3 separate regions of the Homo sapiens genome follow, and regions 1 and 2 are each linked to region 3. The links are contacts of gene promoters, found by promoter capture Hi-C in blood cells and fetal thymus (Javierre and others, 2016). All regions are on one chromosome and are shown on one strand. Each heading gives the region's core, a stretch centred on a gene start or on the middle of the fragment in contact. The rest is flanking DNA. Distances are from core to core; before and after follow the strand shown. Region 1 overlaps ADGB (androglobin). Region 2 overlaps ADGB (androglobin). Region 3 holds the start of GRM1 (glutamate metabotropic receptor 1).

What was found. Contacts are between HindIII fragments. The CHiCAGO score rates a contact against its expected background, and 5 or more counts as called.
Region 1: a contact is called between a fragment that was not itself captured here and the fragment with the promoter of GRM1 in region 3, in 1 of 17 cell types (endothelial precursors). The highest score is 6.5, in endothelial precursors.
Region 2: a contact is called between a fragment that was not itself captured here and the fragment with the promoter of GRM1 in region 3, in 3 of 17 cell types (endothelial precursors, M1 macrophages and M2 macrophages). The highest score is 7.8, in endothelial precursors.

The regions. Positions count from the first base shown.
Region 1 is chr6:146,629,622-146,633,668 of GRCh38, forward strand. All of the region lies in intron 1 of ADGB (androglobin), which reads left to right. Among named protein-coding and RNA genes, the nearest start is that of ADGB, 33 kb to the left of the region's middle. The HindIII fragment of the contact is 5,071 bases long and covers 150-4,047 here.
Region 2 is chr6:146,658,324-146,662,509 of GRCh38, forward strand. All of the region lies in intron 5 of ADGB (androglobin), which reads left to right. Among named protein-coding and RNA genes, the nearest start is that of ADGB, 61 kb to the left of the region's middle. The HindIII fragment of the contact is 1,036 bases long and covers 1,091-2,126 here.
Region 3 is chr6:146,027,598-146,031,443 of GRCh38, forward strand. It overlaps GRM1 (glutamate metabotropic receptor 1), which reads left to right and starts at 1,465. Exons shown (of 8, transcript NM_001278064.2): 1 at 1,465-2,620. The coding sequence starts at 1,921. RefSeq lists enhancers at 1,283-1,783, 1,784-2,284. The HindIII fragment of the contact is 3,742 bases long and covers 1-3,057 here.

The DNA.
Region 1 (4,047 bases), core at 1,435-3,934, 600 kb after region 3:
GCTTCCTGAATGAAGTAATTTTATGCTGGTTTTGATGGACAAAATCACCAATTTATTTTTATCTGTAGGCTTGTGTCAATACTCTATACAACAGAGATATTGTAATATGCTAATTTATGCCTTGATTTTTCAATTAATACTATGAAAAAAGCTTCATTTTTCCCTGAAAACTATTCTAGTCATCCTTACTCCTTTATAATACATTCTTACATGCTACTTAGGAATCCTCTTTAACAATGTATAAATTTTCAGACTTTCTTTTCTAGGATGATAGTAGATTAATATTTTAAAAGAATAACAATACCTATAAATGTGTGTATAAAGAAAAAAGCTGGCTAGGCACTGTGGCTCGTGCCTATAATCCCAGCACTTTGGGAGGCTGAGGCAGGTGGATTATCTGAGGTCAGGAATTTGAGGCCAGCCTGGCCAACATGATGAAACTCCACCTGTACTAAAAATACAAAAATTAGCTGGGCATGGTGGCAGGTGCCTGTAGTCCCAGATGCTCAGGAGGCTGAAGGAGGAGAATCGCTTGAACCCGGGAGGCGGAGGTTGCAGTGAGCTGAGATCGCACCATTGCACTCCAGCCTGGGTGACAAGAGTGAAACTCCGTCAAAAAATAAAAATAAAAATAAAAATAAAAGAAAGAAAGCAAGCTGGGCAGGATCACACATGCTTGTAGTCCTAAATACTTGGAAGGCCAAGGTGGAAGGATCATTTGTGCCCAGGAGTTAGAGGCCAGCCTGACAAAATAGTAAGGCCATAAAAAAAGAAGAGAATACAAATACTTATAAATATGTATATAAAGAATAAAAGCCAGACATGTTGGCACTCCCTGCTACTTGGGAGGTTGAGGTAGGAGCATCATTTGTGCTCAGGACTTAGAGGCCAGCCTGGGCAACATAGTGAGACCCTGCTTCTTAAAAAACAAACAAACAAACAAACAAAAAAAGAATAAGGATCTTCAGGATCCAGAAGTGAAGAGAAAAATTGATGATCAGAGTGCTATGGCTCTGAGGGAAGTCCTATCAGTCTTAAAAAATTGGAATCTTTTGTTTCAATATATACAGTACATGGTCTTGTGCCCAAATGAGGAAAGGAAGTATTCCAATCTTAGGTGAAAATACGGCTTTCCAAGAGTTTAATTGTCTTTAAAGAGATGAATGAGAAAATCCACCTAAGCACAGAAAGATTATAAGAAAGCTAACTTTTCACTGAGACTTGAGTAGGTTTGTGACTTGCTTTTACATTATCTATGGGTTCCTGGATGGCTTATTCATTTGGGGTTTCTGACAGAAGAAAACTCAATGTTATATTGAAAGAACATCTTCTCAACACAGGATTACCCTGGAGGAAAAGGATAGGAGGAGAAGAAAACCCTGATAAGGATAAGCTCATAATTAAAGAATATACAAAATATTGGCAAAAGTCACAACAAGCAAGAGAATCGAAAGTTGAAAATTTAAGATAATAGAAGAATAATCTGTAATATAGCATACAAGTGCTTATAATGATTAAAGATACGAAAGAGGAAATCCAAATCCTAACAGTATAATTGCACTCTTTATTTGAGACAATGCTACAGTATCGAAAAACCAAATCTCAGTGACTTAACACTACAAAGAATATTTCTTTCATACCAGAGTGTGACCAGGTGTGTAGTGCTGGCTTTGCATGTGCTGAATAAGAGTTCCTGACTCCTTTCATTTTGTGGTATAACCATTTTGTAAGGTGTCCTTATAGGACTCAGACAGACATTGAGCAGGAAGAGAGAGAGAAGTATCTCACAGAATGTTTATGAACCCGAAGCTGGAATACAACATAACATAGTGCTAGCCAAACTGCAAAAGAAATGGAAACAGGATCGGTAGGCTTCTGCTCAATCTCTACCTACATATAAAAATTTGACAGAGTTTCAATTAGGTATATCAGAAATGTAAATTACAGGCATTCATTGTTTCATTTCATATAAATAGATGATAGAGATAGATTTATTACTTTGTCCAGGTACCATCCCAGTTACTGGAGATGGAGGAAATGAACAAAAAATCCAATGTTCCTACCACAGTGGAGTTTACAAAATCCTACCTGTGGAGGCACACAGTCAGCACATAAATAAAGGATTAGTGAGAGTACTGAGTAGTATAAAAATGAAGCAATATGAAATGATGCAGAGAAGCACCTTGCTATAATAGGGTGTTCATGAAAGTCCTCCAGCCCTCACCTCCAGGAGGTGATATTTGAGAGATGTTTCCTTGTTTCTAAATTCAACATTTAGTTGTTTTCACTTTATCATTCTTGATCTGCTAGCTGCATTTAGGTCTCCTGCTCATCTCCTCATTAAAAAAAAAAAAAAACAAAAAAAACCTTCACTTGGTTTCCAAGGTATCGCCTTCCAGTGTGTTTTTCCTACCTCAGTGTATTAGTTTCTTATGGCTGCTAGAATAAAATATCACAAACTTAATGGCTTCAAATCACATACATTCATTGACAAATTCATTTGGAATTCTCGAGGTCACAAGTCCAAAATGGGTCTCACTGAGCTACCAACAAGGTTTCAGCAGGGCTGCCTTCCTTTCTGTAGGCTCTAGGAGAAAATCCACTTCCTTGCCTTTCCAGCTTCTGGAACTTGACCACATTCCTCGGCTTGTGGCCACTTTTGTCTATCTTCCAAACCCAGCAATTTTCCCTTTTTGCTTTCTTCAGCAGCCACTTTTCCCTCTAACCTCCTCCGACTCCTTCTTCCACTTTTGAGCACTCTTGGAGTTACTCTGAGATCCCCAGATAATCCAGGATAATCTCCCCATCTCAAGATACTTAATCACATCTACAAGCTCCCTTTTTCAATGGAGGGTAACAGATCCACAGTTTCCAGGGACTAAGATGTGTATGTATTTGAAGTAGGGGTTGGTGGTTATTCTGTCTACCACATTCAGTGACTGCTTTCTTTTCTCAGTGTTCACAGTTATTTCCTCCTTATCTCTCTGACCCTTACATATAGAGTACCAGGGCAGAAATACAGCTCTGTTGATTACTAGAGATTGAAATATTTTTATATTTCTCAGTAGGTAGTCTTAACAATTACCAATAACTCTTGAGTTCCAGACATTTCTGCCTTTTGCCCTAGGTCCCTGACTTTCCCTGAGGACTTTAAATATTTGTTCCTGCTACATAAAATACGGAATAAATGTCTGGCTTAGTTGGAGGCTTTGAAGACACTGACCCAGCATTGTGGTCAGGGTCCATTTAGAATTGTTCTTGCTCAATCTATACCAGCTGTTAGCATCCCTGGGTGTGCCCCTTCCTTAAGTAGTTATTTTCTTGATGATTTCATCCAGTCTTAAGACTTTAAATACCACCTAGATGCTGATGACTCTCAAAGTTTCACTTGTTGTCCAATTTTTTCTCCCAAACTTCAGAATCTGATGTCTAATTACCTACTCAGTATCCTCAAGGCTGTATTTTTGGCATCTAAAGCACAATCTTATTTATCAGCGCACTGCTGCTTTATGCCCCCTGCCTCAATTTTTCTCCGTACCACGGTCTTCTGTCGATAAGGAAATATCAACTCTATCTGCTTTCTCTATCTTAAAGTATATGCAGAATCTATTTCTTGCCTTCTCTTCAGTCACCAAGCCAGTCCAAACCCCCATTAGTTCTCTCCTCTTAATTCAAAGCATTTTACATTGTCTCCCTTCTTCCTTTGGTCTTTTTCAACATAGCAGCAAGAATTATCATCAAATTCTAATAATATCATTTTGGACCCCTGCTCAGAACCCTCCTTTGGCTTCTTATCTCACTCAGAGTAAAGACCCTCCCCCTGCCTTAGATCACCTTGACAATCTTTGCATCTAGTACCTCTCTGCAATCAACTTCCATTGCTTTTCCTCCCACTCACACAGCTTAAGGCACACTGACCTCTGTATTATTCTTAAACTAAGTCAGGATGTCCTCTGCATCTGGAATACTCTTCCTTCCTGTATCTGGAGCATTCTTTGATGGATAGTCACATAGCTTGATCCCTCACTTTCTTTTATTATTTAAATA
Region 2 (4,186 bases), core at 359-2,858, 630 kb after region 3:
CTAGACTAGACTTTAAGTTTTAAATCTGTGCAGAGGAGCAAGCAGAAGGGTGATATTAAAAAGGTGAAAAACCTAGTGGATAGTGTTGAGGGAGTATAGAAAGAAGGTACGCAGAGGAAAAGCGAGGAGATAAAATGCCCTGGTTCCTGTCCCACATTTGTCTAAACTTGAGGTGGGAGGAAGGTCAAAACTATGAAGTGTTTTGAAACATTGAACCAACCCTGTTGATTTATTTCTCATTCTCTCTTTCTGCTTCCTGACATCCCTCCTTGGTTTTCAAATTTCCTCCTGCATAGGAGTTAACATTCATTAACATCACTTTCCATTTTGCAAAGAAAATGTGACTTATTTCTCCTTAATCATACTGATTATTCACAAGCTCAACTCCACTTGATTCAGAAATTTGTTTAAAAATGTATTGAGCCCACTTTGGAAATCTCAGTCTGGTCCAGTCATTTAGCCCACCTCTAGATAATTTAGCCCTTTAGGGAACGATGTGGTAGAGACTGGACCTCAGCTCCACTGGCTCCCTCTGTTTCCTCAGTGGTCTCATCAGAGGAATGCCTACAGAGGATGCTGTGAGCACTGACATACCAGTTCCCTATGAATTATTTTGGTAGGCATGTGATAGAGAGGCAGCTGCCTGGTTTTCTGATTAGTAGAATCTGTTCTCTCTAGGCTTAGGGCAGAAATTTTTATTTCTTTCTACCTGATCCCCAGGTGATAGGGCTGAGTCAATATCTGTGTACATATTAACATTAGTAAGAAGTTAGAGTCAATTCTGTCTTACATGCAAATCCTATGTGGTTGGTTTTTTATCCGTTTCTTTCCTTTCCAGACACACTCAATTTGATTTTGATTTTTTTCTCTTCCAATTCTAGTTGAGCACTTGTACATGTCTGTCATTTGCTTCTCTCTGCAAGTATTTGGGAAACATGTTTATAAAATATGCATTATTACTTCTACTTCTTGATTCAGTACAATACACTACAGATTCATCTTATACCCTACATTTATTTTCTTTCCCGTTTCCCATCTTATGAGACATGATGAGTCTTCTTCTCACTGTTTTTCTTCTTTAGTTTCTTAAAGCTTTCTTACCTTTTTCTTATTGGAAATTGATTTTTCTTCTCTGCCTTATCACAAATATTCTTCTCCCTCATTCACTTTGTCCTGTAAAACATTTACCTTTATCACTTCTTTGAGGCAAACCAACCTCTCAGAGCCTCTTGGCATGACATTTAAAAATTCTGATTTTCACACCAGGTTATCATTTTTTCTATGAAAGTATTTTTATTATTTCCAGTTTGGATTCTAAGTAAATTGTATCAAGTTCTTTGACCTCAGCCAGATAGAAATTTATTGAGTAGCATTAAGAACAGGGTTGTGACACAGAGCAGCTCTCTCCCGTCTTTCACCTGGGAATGATGATACTAATGCTGGGACACATATCATCTCGTCAAGTGCCTTCCAATGGCAGCATTCCTTTGGGCCCCCGAAAGAAGCAGGTTAGCCATTGCTCTCCGCTTGAAATATGTATTGCTGATGGCAGCTTTTCTCTGAGTGTCTCTGTGCTTTCATTTGTTTCTGATAAACAGAGAAAACACACACATTAGGACCAATAATTTTTCCCAGTTGCCATCAATATGTTTATATAAAAATGCATTTGCTTTATTTCTGATTGAGCCTTATACTGCTTAACCACAATGTTATTCTAGAATTCAGAGTTTCCTAATTTTGTGGTACAGAAACCCCCCAACATCAAACTGGCTGTTGTACTTCTTAAACATCCACTTCCCATGCCCCACTCCAGACCTCATGAGTTTGAATTTCCAGGGTAGAGCCTGCAATCCTGCATTATAAGAAAACTCTCTCATCCAGTGACATTTTTGTTCATTAAATTTGAGGAACAATGTTTGCAAGATATAAACTATGACAAAATTATTTTTCTATCATTCAATTACTTTGTTCCAAAATGGAAATGCTTTATTTCATTATATGTAATATTATACATGCTTTTAAAACAGGAAATTCAACTACTGTTAAAATGTTCAAAGTATGCAGTGAAAGTTCCCCGTAATTTTACCATATTTAATCACAGCAAATGATTTATTTATATCCTCCTAAGCTTTCTTCTATTCTTATAAACATACATAAAGCTATTGTACATAATTTATAACAATAGGGTCATAGAAATGTATTATTCTGTACACTATTCTTTTCCCTACACACAGTCATTTTCTATGCTAATATATATTGATCTACTTTGTATTCCATTGTGTGAGATATGTAAATATAATATATATTGCTAATTTGATATTGGTAAACATTTAGGTTAGGACCAGTGTTTTACCAAAACAAACAATGCTGTAAAATTTCATCTTTATGTATATAGTCTTTGCCCATTTGTACGGACTTCTTTTTCTAGGATTTCTACCATATGGAGTTATTCCATCAAAATATTTGCAAATTCTTAATTTTTGATAAGTATATTCAAGTTACTCTTGTATTTTAATTTGTCTGTATAGAACATTTATATTTGATGTAATTGGAATTGAAGTCTGTGATTTTATTCTTTGTTTGTTCTTTGTTACCTTTCTTATTTTGTGTGTGTTACTTTGTATTTATTGCATTCTTAATCCCCTTTCCTTTACTCCTGTATGTTTCTTGGGCATTCCTTAGGATTCCATTTTGATTGACCTATAGTGCTTTCAAGCAAATCTCTTCACTTTATGAATTAAAATATACATGCATAGCTTATCACAGTCAACTAGTATCATGATTTTACCACTTGAATTGGAATATAAATACTTTACCACCATTTAGTCTTCTTTATATTCCTCCTTTTCTAATATAGCTTTCTTTTCCTTTTTCCTTTACTTTTTTTTCTTTTTTTCTTTTTTTTTTTTTTTTTGGAGATAGGGTCTGACTCTGTCGCTCAGGCTGGAGTGTAGTGGCACAATTATAGCTCACTGCAGCCTCCACTCCTGGGATCCAGTGATCCTCCTGCCTCAGCCTCCCAAGTAGCTAGCACTACAGGTATGCCATCATCACGCCTGACTAATTTTATTTTTTGTAGAGACAGGGTCTCACTATGTTGTGCAGGCTGGTCTTGAATTCCTGACCTCAAGTGATCCTCCTGTCTCGGCCTCCCAAAGTGTTGGGATTACAGGTGTGAGCCACCACACCCAACCACTGATATAGTTTTTTTAAACATTTCCTGTGTATATATTGAAAACTTCATCATAAATTTTGCTTTTAAATTCAAACACAATATAAAAAATTTGAAGACAAGAGTACCACATTTAGTCATATGTTCATTTTTTATTTTTTAAGTAAATATTTTAACTGGCATGTAAAATTTTTCCTTTATGCTTTCTCATTCTTGATGTTCCATTTTTCCTTTTATTCTCCTTTCTTTTTATTTCTGAAAAATTTTCTTTCGCAATTCCTTTTGAGACACTCTAATGATGACAAATTATCTTATCTTTCCTTTATCTGAGAATGTGTTTATTTTACTCTTATTCCTAAAGAATATTTTCCCTAGTGATATGATTCTGGGTTAGCAGTAATTTTCTTTCAGCATTTGGTATTTAGTGTGCCATTAATTTTCCAGCCTTCCAGAATTTTCCTCCAGGCCAGCCAGAATTATTCTTCTGGCCTCCCTGGCTCCTGGTGAGCAATCTGTCCTTCCCCTCTAACAGGTCTTTTCTTGCTGCTGGCTTTCAAGCTTTTTTCTTTTGTCTTAACTTTTAAGAAGTTGGAATTCGATCTGTCTGGCTGTAGAATTCTTTAAGTTTATCCTATTTGGTTTAGTCTGAGTTCCTTGAGTTTGTAGGTTTATGTCTTATGACAATTTGGGAGAGTTTTCAGCCATTATTCCTTCAACTATATTTTTTGCCCCACTCTCTCTTTCTCTTCTTTTTTTCAGTGGCAACAATGACATGAATATTATATCTTTTTGCATTATCCGCACAGGTCCCTGAGCCTTATATGATTGTTGATACTATATTTTCCTGTTATTCGTAATTTCTATTGATCTAATGTCCAGTTCACTAATTTCTATGCTATCTGCATTCTGCTATTGATCTCATCAATTGAGAGTTGCTTTTTAGTTTAATTTTAAGCTTAAAATTTCTATTTTTATGCCTTTATATCTTCCATTTCTTTGCTGAGAGTTTCTATT
Region 3 (3,846 bases), core at 215-2,714:
CTGTTTTTTTTTTTCTTCCCTCCCCCTCTTTTTCCCTTGCGGTAAAATAGTGCTGAAGAAAGAGGGCACTAGTGTACAGCCCAGATCGCATCCTTGCACCGTCTGGATTAGAGCTGAGGCGTCTGCAAGCCGAGCGTGGCCACGGTCCTCTGGCCCCGGGACCATAGCGCTGTCTACCCCGACTCAGGTACTCAGGTATGTCTCAAGTCCATGTCCTCCAAACAGACTCAGGTGAGCGGACACTTCCTCCGGTGAAACCCACCCACAACGGCAGACAAAGTCCCAGTCTATCAGATTTTCCTCCGGGTCCCAGGCGCATTCTCGCTTATGTATTTCTTTTCGTCCTGTATCCTCAGGAAGAGTCGGGACCAATGGGTGCCTGGGTTTTCTTTCTCCTTTTTCTGCCTCACCTCCTGTGCTCTCCTCGCCCGCTCCCATAGCCCCCTTTTCGTCGACTCTCACCTTGAGAAAAGGAGCAGGGGAGGAACGGGAGAGGGAGCCAACTTCAGCCCCGCAGGCGGCTGAGATTTGGCGCCTCTGTCCCCAAGCGGGTGGGTTTGGATATATACCTGCACAAGCGGTGCAAGGTGATGAGAATGAGGGCGGAGGGGCGGTGGGGACTCGAGTGGAAGGGAGTGTGTGTGTGTGTGTGTGTGTGTGTGTGTGTGTGTGTGTGTGTGTATGGGTAAAGAACTCAGAGGAGGGAGGTTGAAAGAGCAAAGCGGGTCAGGGAATTGCAACTCACTGGTCAAAGCGTCCCTTGCAGGCCCTGCCAGGGAATGTCTGGCTGGACCGAGCACTGTCCAGGGTCCTGAAGGCGGCAGGGCTCAGGCTGCCGCGGCGAGAGCAACCCGGAAGCTCCCCTCCGTTCCCTTTCTAGCAACTATGCAAACCCCAAAGCAAGCGCAGGACCCCCCCTAACCCGTCCACCCACCGCGGGAAACAAGTTACCTTATCTGCACCCCTTCTTCTTGAACATACACAGCAAGCCTGACTTCTTACGGGGGAAACATACCAAACTCCTCCATACGGAGACTTTACCAGGCGTTGCCTTAGTAACTAATGTGGATTTTCTTCAAGCTGGCAAATTTATATTTACAGCTGATTTTATGTCAGGGCTTCTTCAACCCCTCAAAATTAAAGTAAAAGGTGCATCCTTTGTTTACGTTTATTTTAAAGTCGCGCTTCCACCTTTACAATGAGTTTCCAAATTTTCTTCTGAAAAAAAGTTGATCTTTTCCAATCCGGAAAGTTCTCTTGGGTTGAAGGACCTAGCTCCTCCCCTCCTCTCTGCTCACCTTCCCCACCGCCCTCCAAGTTAGAAAGCATGATAGGTTTTAGGGGACCAGGAAACGACTTAAGGTTGGAGGAGCGGGCGAGTTGGCGGGGCTCTGCGCCGCCTGGACCCGTGAGGACAGAGGGGGCAGGACACCCCGCCTTCCTCAGTGACCACAGCTGCGCTCCAAGCTGTTCCTGCAGCCGATATCAGGATGTGCCGAAATGAAACGGACAAGGCAACTGTTAACATTATAGACCCCAGAGTTTTAACACAGGTCCTCTGATGACAAGGTTGTGATTTTTCTCTGTCTTTTGTCAGCAGCATCTAGCTCACCGCTGCCAACACGACTTCCACTGTACTCTTGATCAATTTACCTTGATGCACTACCGGTGAAGAACGGGGACTCGAATTCCCTTACAAACGCCTCCAGCTTGTAGAGGCGGTCGTGGAGGACCCAGAGGAGGAGACGAAGGGGAAGGAGGCGGTGGTGGAGGAGGCAAAGGCCTTGGACGACCATTGTTGGCGAGGGGCACCACTCCGGGAGAGGCGGCGCTGGGCGTCTTGGGGGTGCGCGCCGGGAGCCTGCAGCGGGACCAGCGTGGGAACGCGGCTGGCAGGCTGTGGACCTCGTCCTCACCACCATGGTCGGGCTCCTTTTGTTTTTTTTCCCAGCGATCTTTTTGGAGGTGTCCCTTCTCCCCAGAAGCCCCGGCAGGAAAGTGTTGCTGGCAGGAGCGTCGTCTCAGCGCTCGGTGGCCAGAATGGACGGAGATGTCATCATTGGAGCCCTCTTCTCAGTCCATCACCAGCCTCCGGCCGAGAAAGTGCCCGAGAGGAAGTGTGGGGAGATCAGGGAGCAGTATGGCATCCAGAGGGTGGAGGCCATGTTCCACACGTTGGATAAGATCAACGCGGACCCGGTCCTCCTGCCCAACATCACCCTGGGCAGTGAGATCCGGGACTCCTGCTGGCACTCTTCCGTGGCTCTGGAACAGAGCATTGAGTTCATTAGGGACTCTCTGATTTCCATTCGAGATGAGAAGGATGGGATCAACCGGTGTCTGCCTGACGGCCAGTCCCTCCCCCCAGGCAGGACTAAGAAGCCCATTGCGGGAGTGATCGGTCCCGGCTCCAGCTCTGTAGCCATTCAAGTGCAGAACCTGCTCCAGCTCTTCGACATCCCCCAGATCGCTTATTCAGCCACAAGCATCGACCTGAGTGACAAAACTTTGTACAAATACTTCCTGAGGGTTGTCCCTTCTGACACTTTGCAGGCAAGGGCCATGCTTGACATAGTCAAACGTTACAATTGGACCTATGTCTCTGCAGTCCACACGGAAGGTAGGCATTATATTTGGGAAAGAAGGGTACTGAGAAAGTCAGGGCAATGCATGATGTGCTCCTGGGATCATAGTATTGTTCCTGTTTATTTCTAGCACTGTGGGGAACGGAGTTTACCCTTCTCAGTACTGCCCACCCAGGCATTGCCTTTTATCCTCATTTCCTTACAATTATAGTGTAGGAAAATTGTACCCCATAGAATATCTGAGGATAATAGGAGCTGAAAGGGTATCAAACTTTCCATGCAAAGTGTCCAGCAGTAGATTTGACTTGAATACTTGTTTGCCCTCATATTTTGAGTTTGCGTTTGGAAGGCTTATTTGTCCAAGGTGTTATATTGCCCTTCAGTGACTGGCTATGACTTTCCAGGTGTAATGAGTTAATTCAGTGTGAGTGATTGGCAAAAAGAAGTTACTATTCCACAAATAGGACTTCAAAGCTTTATCTTTCTTTAACAGTTGAAGATTTTCTTTGTCCTCTTGTACCCCTTCTTACATATCCAAAACTTTCCTGTGAATGTAGGATTAATGCAGTCATCTCCCTCAGTATATCAGAAACTTATATTTTTACTTCTGGAGTACCTTAGTTACAAAGAAAAAGTAAGTAATTTAAATAATGTATTTTCTTCTTACTTTATAGGCTAAAATCATCCAGATTCCCTCACTCCCCCAAGAATTATCTTGTTTTATGAGAAATAACACTGGTGACCACTTGGATTTGAGTTTTGGTTTCTAGTCTTTTTTCTTCTAACACAATGAACTTACATATTAGAATTAAAGTTAGATCAGTTATAAAATACTAATGAATGGATAGCAGATATTAGGTTTATAATGTCTTTCTAAAATGCAATAGATTAACCTAAGGTTAAAAGCTTTGATTTTTCCAGAGACTTATGGATGTGAATTTTCAAAAATTTTTTATATAAAGATTTTCTAGACTCTCTTCACCTTAGGTTATATACATTTTTTAATAAAAGGGGATTTCTGAGCTCAGCTACTCTTAAGTCCCCCAGTAGGTTTATGAAAAAGCTGAAGCCCTGGTTATAAATTAACATCTAGGACAATTCACATGTATAAGCTGGCAGAAGAAGACAATCTTGCTGGTATTTCTGTATTCATATTTCTTCAACTCAAATGACTTTCAAGAAGCCATAGGCATGGCTCCATGTTTTTTTAATATTTCCATAATATTCAGTTACTGGCGTGAGGTCTGATTATAGAAATTGA